3 separate regions of the Homo sapiens genome follow, and all the other regions are linked to region 2. Evidence: promoter capture Hi-C in 16 types of primary human blood cells and fetal thymus (Javierre and others, 2016). All regions are on one chromosome and are shown on one strand. The core of a region is centred on a gene start or on the middle of the fragment in contact, and the rest is flanking DNA. Distances in the headings are between cores, read along the strand shown.

Region 1 (2,700 bases), core at 131-2,630, 4.7 Mb before region 2:
AAAATTTGAATAGAGCTGGTAATGCTACACGATTACAGATAAACACAAATATTCAGTTTCCTTGAAAATGGTTAGGCAGAGGAAACTTCATGAATTAAGAAATTGGGAGCAAATCTAATTTATAAACTGGAACAAGGAGATGGAGAAGAGAGAGGCCTTGGACCCCAAGATTCCCGAGCATGGGGAGAGCTCATCGGGGTGACAGAGGTTGAGTTGGAGTGAAAGTGCCATGTCCCTGTAGCTCTGCCCCCTGTCCCTTTAGAAGGAACGTATTGACAGTGGCAGTGGCCCCGAAGATGCACAGGATAAAGCGAGGAACTCTGGAATCCTTCTTGACAGTTCTAATTACATTTGGACTTCTGAGGGGGATGAGTTGGCAATAAGGAAGTAAGAATATGTGGAAGAAAGCCTAGGAAGAGTCAGGGACAGTGCGGGGAAGCCAGCTATCAGTCACTGCCATGAGACTATTACCTCATAAGTTGGGGAAATGGCACTTCCATCTTTTGGTTATTGTTCCAGCTTTTGGCCATTCAGAAAACAGTTGGAGAGTGTTCAGAGCAACCACAGAATCACGGCTTTGGAGACTGGTAATCTTTTCGGTGCAGGGAATATTGCAGAGAAGGTATCACAAAGGATCGTTACATTACCCACCACTGGCCCAAGGACCAGCTGACAATGTGGTAGGCCCTGTAAGGCTGGGAGGGGAACAGAAGGAGTAACATGAGGTTGTCATGCTGGCCCCCTATTAACTTCAGTAGGGAAGGCACCAGGTTCAAAGGCCGAAGAAGGGAACTGGAGCCGGCAAACAAGACATAGGGTTTATTAAGAGGACTTAATACAAGGGGTCCACTGGCAGTGCCCTGGGCAGGAGAACAACAACTGCTTATAAAAAAGCAAGTAGTTTATATAGCATTTTCACTTAGTACCCTCCCCCTAGCAACCTCTACTTGGCAACCTTCATTTAACCCAAAACAAAGGGCCTCCATCCCCTCTACAGCCTGCCTTCCACAGAATGGGCTAGAGGTTTAGATTTTGCTCATAGATAAGAAATGAATTTTCAGGTTGGCCACTCCCAGATTCCTTAGTTTGGAACTCTGAACACACATTCTTTTTAGATCATAGGGTTATTCTCAAGGTATGCTTAAGTTATGTTATTGCTGTCAGGTACAACTGCCATATAGCAATTCTCTCCTTAACTATCTTAAATTCTGATTACTACCTGCAGATGGTAGCAACTGCAAGAACCTCTTCTCCACTCCTGCTAGAATAACTGAAAAGAGGTATGCCCAGTCTGGAGTGAGGGCTTCTGAAATGGTTGCTGTGCTTGCCTTGCAGAAAACAGTGGGTCAGAGAGAGATGGAATTCTGTCAGTACAGCGTCCTTTGCAGGCCTTGGACTGTTGCCTATTGGTAATGTCACCCCACCCCCTACTCCCAGTTGTAAATTCCTTTGGCCAATATCTCTGGCTTGGTGCCTTACTTATTACAGAATTGTTATTCTGCAGGATCAGAGCCAGAGGCAGGCCAAATTTTTGCCAGTCATGCTGAACATGCCATCTTTCTACCCCAACAACTTGCATTTTCCCTGGGAGTCCTGAGAGTGGGGACAGGAGGAAGGAGGATTTTCTGTTGATTGGTGGGGATTCTTCTCAAGAATTACAGGACTTTTAACCCACCTTTTAGCCTCAACCAAGGAAAATGTTTTAATTCTGAGTCCACAGTATCTCCCAGGCCTTCATTGATGACAGGTCAGAGAAAAATGGCCAGAGGGTAAGAGACCTACAGGTGACTCTGAATTCTCTCCTTTTCTTTGTGCCCAACATGTGTCAAATGAGGTTTCCATCAAAGGCAGTTTGAAGGAGAAAAGCCATTAGAAAAGAGCAGAAGGGGCAGGGGGCAGAGGCATCCCACACACCTTTCCTTGGTGCTTGGCGGCAAAGGTTGATGAGGCATGAGGAGCACATAGTAGTGCTTAGTGATGACCGCTCCTCCCCTATGACCGCCTGTGTTATGAGTCAGCCTGCATGCGCAAGCAGGAATTAGACTTGAATAAGCATCATTCAGTGAGATTTGCTGTTTTTAATGTCTGCTCTTTCTCAGTAAGCAGAACCTTGAATTTGAGTCTAATTTGAGTCTAACCTTGAATTTGAGCAGACCTGAATTTGAGCCTAATGAGTCCACTTGGAGATCTTTAATACTTGAAATGATCCTTTTAACTCAAGACTTAACTTCCTTTTTTTAAGGATTAGATGAAATATAAACTGACAGTGTACAACAACTTATGTGAAATTTACCAAGTTCTTATTGTTCATGCACACATGTCCAACCAACTACAAATAAGATTGACCATAATTCTGGCATTAGATCCAACCTCTCCTAACTTGGAAATAGAAAACAACAAAAAGACCCAGTCAAACTTAGCTAATGGAACACATCTTTTTTTTTCTGCTGTCTCCCCTCCTAGTTTTATGTCATTCATAGATGATCTTCTCTGTCTTATGCTGTTCTGATTTGAAGTCACATCGATTTTGTGAAGCTATCATAATTGCAGAGAGTTGGCAGCCTATCTGTTTAACATTGGTTAGGTTTCACATTTTAAGTAGGTATTCCTTAAATGTAGTTCTTTATCTACGTCAAGCTACCATATTCCCTAAGTGATTACTGCACAGATCCATACAATGTTCATTTTCTTCCTATGCTT
Region 2 (2,700 bases), core at 171-2,670:
TGTTTAACTTAAACCTTTATATTTCAACCCTGATGTTTATCTTTATCCCTGGGATGGGTTTTGAGAATTACTCTGTGACATTCACTTTTAGATATTTGAAAGCAGCTTTGCTTCATTGCAAAGTTACTCTCAAAAGCTGACAAGAAAGGCAATGCTAGTTCTTTAAGTTCTGGTGCTGTCAATACTCTAGGGATTGTTCTTTCACTGATTTGTATTTGTACTTGATTTTGTGCTGTGATTCTGGCAGGGAAATCACAGTGCTTTTGTTGTATGTGTATAATCTGGCAGTGCTTTTGTTGTATGTGTATAATCACATGCAAATTCTAGGGATGCCCTGAACTCTAAGTAAGCGGTAAAGGTCAGGCTCTACATGACTTGCTTAGCAATGGATGTTTAGAAGTTTGGTATACTTGCAGTTTTTCAGGTGGTTAATTCTAAAGTCCACTTAAAACCAATGCTGTTTTGCTATGAACAGTAAAACAGGCTACATTTTAAGTTGATTTATATAGATATTTTAACATTTAAGAACAATACTATACATCTTAATATTCACTTTTAAGATTAAAGATAAACTCATGAATACTTATAAAGTATTCACTATCATTCTAGCTAAGATCGGTGTTATAGTAGAAGGTAGTTATTTCTGTCAAAATACTTCGAGAGCCTACGCTGACTCAAAGATTACATGTTCTAGACTGACCATCTCCGGATAACCTCTATTTTAAGTGGACTCTGTCAAGCAATTCCTCTTCTTAAGCTCTGGTAGGAGAGCCAGGCTCGAGTACCCTTGGAAATGAGAGAAGCCTGGTTTGCTTTCTTTCATTATGAAAAACCCGGATCAAGGCATGTTTTTCAGCTGCTTCGAGGATGGTTTATTCTGGCAGGTGGAGGAGAGAAACTCTATACACACATAAGCATTTAGGGCACGACAAAGATGTCAACAGAATGAAGAGCCAAGTACAATTCTTCCCCTCACCGCCCAGTTCCCCGTCCTGCCGGGAAGAGCGCGGAGAAGCGACTTAAAGGTACAGGCTGTCTACACCCCCGCTGGCTAAAAAAGCTTGCAAATCAATCTTTTAAAATGGTTTATTGTGTTTTCCTCCATTCCTCAATAATCTGAGAGTGATGAGAAGACTAGACTGTTACTGTGGGTTTATTACAGCCAGCCATAGTCGTACAATGGGATATTTAATTTAAACACCCACAAGGCACTCAGCACAGCACACTGTCCTGTGCGGATTGCTGCTCGCCACTTCCAGGAATACCTTCCCACCCAGACCAAGGAAGGCAGCTCAGTCCAGCGCCTCCTGTCCCGCCCCGCCCCGCCCCAAGGGGAGGTGCCCAGCTCTCCCCGCCCCTCGCCCTCGCCCTCGCCCCGCCCCGTCGCGTAACCCGGATACACACCCACGCTCCCCTTTCACCTCGCGGCCGTAGGCTAACGTGGAAGTCGGACCAGCCGGCCGGCGGAAGAACCTAGAGCGCGCTGCCTGGCGAGTCAGGCGCGCGGGGCGGCGTTGGTGGTCTTCGCGGCGCAACTCGGCCTTTCCTGGGAGGGAGTGATGGGGCGCACCGGGGCCGGGGAGCGGGCGCCAGTGTAGCCCGCGCGGCGCCTGGCCCGGAGCGCGGCGGCTGCGGCGGCGGCGGCGGCGGGCGCTGGAGGCCTGTGAGAGCCGCAGCCCGGAGCGCCCGGCTTCCCACGCCATGGCCCCCATGGGCATCCGCCTTTCCCCACTGGGGGTGGCAGTGTTTTGCCTGCTGGGGCTCGGCGTGCTCTACCACCTCTACTCGGGCTTCTTGGCCGGCCGCTTCAGCCTCTTCGGCCTGGGCGGCGAGCCTGGCGGCGGCGCGGCGGGGCCCGCGGCCGCGGCCGATGGGGGCACCGTGGACTTGCGCGAGATGCTGGCTGTGTCAGTGCTGGCCGCAGTCCGCGGCGGCGACGAGGTGAGGCGCGTCCGCGAGAGCAACGTCCTCCACGAGAAGTCCAAGGGGAAGACGCGCGAGGGAGCCGAGGACAAGATGACCAGCGGCGACGTGCTGTCCAACCGCAAGATGTTCTACCTGCTCAAGACCGCCTTCCCCAGCGTCCAGGTGGGAGCCCACGGGCGGAGCGCCCACTCGAGCCGGGTAGCGCGTCTCGGCCCGTCGACTCTTAACAGTATGGGATGTGGAGCTTCTGGTTCCATTTTGTAGATGTGGAAATTGAGACGCAGAAGTTAACGTGCACAAGGTCAGACAGACAGCAGAGGAGCTGGGTGAGGTTGCACGTAGTCTGACTCAGGGCCCGTGCCCTTTTGGCTCGTCCTGGGTCGGGTGTGCGCCGTGTGTACCTGGGATCAGAAGGCCTTGAAACGAAAAGGCTGACAAAGTTAATTGCACCCGCAGCTTCAGGCTCCTCTGTAGAATTAAGGGGTTGGCTAAAATCCACCAAGACTCTCTATCCTTCCTTGATTTCATCCCTAGAAGGGTCGAAACTGGAGTACACATTTTCTGGGTGGCCTGCCAGTAGCCAGCTGAAAGACCGAGTCTTGTTGCAGAGCTGTTAGTGTGCGGGGCATTTGTGTGTGCGTGTGTGCGCTCGCGGGAGTCGGGGTGGGGGGGTGGGGGATGAGTATGCTCATTTCGCTGTCTTTTTGTCAGGACGCTCTAAAGTTTATAGTTTGCGGGCCCTTTAAGGAGGTACTTAGAAATATACCAGCTGTT
Region 3 (2,700 bases), core at 153-2,652, 4.3 Mb after region 2:
TTATAATTTACCAGATTATCACTGGCATAGTTCAGAAATTTTTTTTTATTTTTCAGACAGGGCAACAATCTGTTGTCCAGGCTAGGAGTGCAGTGGTGCCATGATGGTTCACTGCAGCCTCGACCTCCTGGGCTCAACTGATTCTCCCACCTCAGCCTTCTGAGTAACTGGGACCACAGGTGTGCATCACCACGCCCAGCTAATTTTTGTATTTTTTGTAGAGAAGGGGTTTCACTACGTTGCCCAGGCTGGTCTCCAACTCCTGGGCTCAAGCAATCCTCCTGCCTCGGCCTCCCATAAGTGCTGGGATTCCAGGTGTGAGCCACTGCACCGAGCTCCAGCAAGATTTTTACATTCTAAATTGGGTTATATTTGTAATAATGAATGTCACTAATAAGAGGAAGTGCAAGTACCAATACGTTCTTTACAGGCCTCATACTGCAGTTTTTCTTTTCTTTCTTTTTCTTTTCATTCTTGGTCATACTGCCATTTTTCTTAGCCAATTTTCTGGCCAAACTCCTCCTCACCACTTATTTTCTGTGTGCTGATGACTATGCTTTACTACTAAATTTGGCTCTTTTGTCTTGCCAGTTCACACCTTCCCTTAAGGCATAATAACCATTTACTACTTAATTTTCGCTTTTCTCCTCTATCTTGCTGGGGTGGTGTAATAAAATTCCAGCTTAACCAATAAGTAAAATGGCTTGCCAGTGATGATAAAGACCACATTTGTTTGGGATATGTAGCAGCACAAATTTAAAAGTAAATAAATAAAACAAGCCCATCTCAATCCTAACTTACAGATACTGGTCAGTGTGACTGAAAACTGAAATTGTTCATGCTAACCAACGTTTTTCAGTTTCCACCTAACATTTTGTTCAGTTTGGTGCCCTCTTGTGCCTCCTATTTTTACAAACACAACTCAGAATTCCTGATGACTTTAGAGAAGGCACCTCCAAGTTTTCACTCATACCAGATATTCCTGGATATAACAGGAATTTGAGAACTATTATGTAATTATTCTACGTGTAACATCTGCTCATCAGATTTTAATATTCAAGCCTCGTGGCTTCAAGTCATTGCCTGTGACTGATCATCTTCACAAATGCAAGAGTCCCCTGAAACTGTCTCCCAACCATTAGGGTGCTCATGCTAACCCCTAACCCACTAGACCCACTACAAGATTCAGTATTTGTAAAGCTGAAAACGTGGTTGTGGCGTTTACATTTTCATTCCGATTGGCCTAGGCTTCCCTCTCTTCTCTCTTGCATGTTTTCTTGCCTTACCTGGTCTGAGAAATGGTGCCGCCCCACCCTTGCAGAGTTAACAGGGGGACGCTTGCCAGCTGCGTGCAGTCCCGGCGGTCCGGATATGCGGGGAGGTGGCGGCAGGAACGCCTGGGCCAGGCGCTGGTACGTTATCCTGTTACAGACCTTGGCCTAGTCCGCAGGTTGCCCCTGGAGAGGCGACGGGGACACCAGACCCTCGATTGGCTCCGCTCCTCCGCGACAGGCTGAGGGGAACAAGCTCTCTTTCGCCTGGGGACGATCCAGTGTTTGGTGGGTCGACCTTAGTCAGGGCCTAGCTGTCGCAAAGAAGGTCAAATTCACCTTGGGAAAGTACGCACCGGGACGGCAGCTAGCACCATAACAGGCGGCCCCAGCGGAGTCTCCCAGGGTCAGGCCAGGACAGCCAACCTGCCGGCCGGAGAGCCGGAGGCGGGGCCGCCCCCTTCCCGGCAGGCTGCCGACTTCCGGACCTGCGTAGACGCCTCTCTGCGCCTCCAGGCGCGCCCCTCCCCCGGCAGGCCGTTTCCCGGCATGCGCCGCGGAGGAAGAGACGGAGTCGACAATAACAAACCAAGCCGCGGCGGTGTCCGCGGCCCTGCCGAGCCCTCGGCGTTGCCTCAGAATCCCCCAGTCGCCTGGGCCCCTCGGCTCTGACAGGCCGCGGCCTTCTGTCCCCCGGCCCCAGACCCAGAGCCGAGGGGCCTGCTCGCGTCCTTGTCCGCCCGGACCCCTCCCTGCCTCCTAGAGTTCGGGGCCGCGGCGGGCGGGCGCCCGGGACGCCGGCGGTTGTGTCGGCTTAGCGGTGCCGAATGGGCGGTTGGTAACCGCTGCCGAGGACTAGGCGGCGGCGGAAGATGGTGCCGGGGGTCGCTGGCTCTGCTGCTGCCGCCGGCGAAGGAGGAGGCGTTGCCGGGTAAGTGTCGCCGCCGCCCGCGTCCCCTTCCCCCATCTGGCACAGCGGTCGCGCGGCGGGCCCTGGCACGGTGGGCCGGGGTCGCATGGTCCAGGGTTCCGGTCGGCCTGAGCCCGGCCCACGCGCAGGTGTGTGCACGGGAGGGCCCCGGCGCCTCCCGCCCCGGCAGGTGTTGCCCACTGGCCGCTTTCCCGGCGCGACAGCCCCTGTGGAGACAAAAGCGGTTCGAGTCGATGCTCCACTAGGCTGCCGGAGGTGTGGGTCGGACTCGTGCTGCGGGGCTGCCTGCGGCTTCCTCGGCCGGAGCCTTGGGATCCCTCCCTCTGCGCTGCCGCTTAGTACCCGGCCTAGTTGCCGGAGTGGCCGAGGGCGAGGGACGTCCGAACCTCCCAAGACGCATCTTGACTTGTGCTCATCGCTGCCAGGGATCAGCCCTTAATTCTGTGTTGGACTCGAGAAACGGGAGAGTGGAGTTTGGCCGAGGCCGAACGAAGCTCA

The links. The method cuts DNA at HindIII sites, captures the fragments that hold promoters and counts their contacts. A CHiCAGO score of 5 or more calls a contact.
Region 1: a contact is called between a fragment that was not itself captured here and the fragment with the promoter of BPNT2 in region 2, in 1 of 17 cell types (non-activated CD4 T cells). The highest score is 12.7, in non-activated CD4 T cells.
Region 3: a fragment that was not itself captured here is called in contact with the fragment with the promoter of BPNT2 in region 2 in 1 of 17 cell types (activated CD4 T cells); the score reaches 7.1 in activated CD4 T cells.

Annotation. Positions count from the first base shown.
Region 1 is chr8:61,720,893-61,723,592 of GRCh38, reverse strand. No RefSeq gene overlaps it. Among named protein-coding and RNA genes, the nearest start is that of MIR4470, 7.5 kb to the right of the region's middle. RefSeq lists enhancers at 782-1,981, 1,775-2,371. The HindIII fragment of the contact is 8,516 bases long and covers 1-2,700 here.
Region 2 is chr8:56,992,587-56,995,286 of GRCh38, reverse strand. BPNT2 (3'(2'), 5'-bisphosphate nucleotidase 2) reads left to right here and starts at 1,420. Exons shown (of 5, transcript NM_017813.5): 1 at 1,420-2,088. The coding sequence starts at 1,702. RefSeq lists a silencer at 1,304-1,863. The HindIII fragment of the contact is 2,693 bases long and covers 1,063-2,700 here.
Region 3 is chr8:52,713,577-52,716,276 of GRCh38, reverse strand. RB1CC1 (RB1 inducible coiled-coil 1) reads left to right here and starts at 1,842. Exons shown (of 24, transcript NM_014781.5): 1 at 1,842-2,202. RefSeq lists enhancers at 1,278-1,327, 1,348-1,657 and silencers at 1,718-1,887, 1,918-2,387. The HindIII fragment of the contact is 3,580 bases long and covers 1-2,700 here.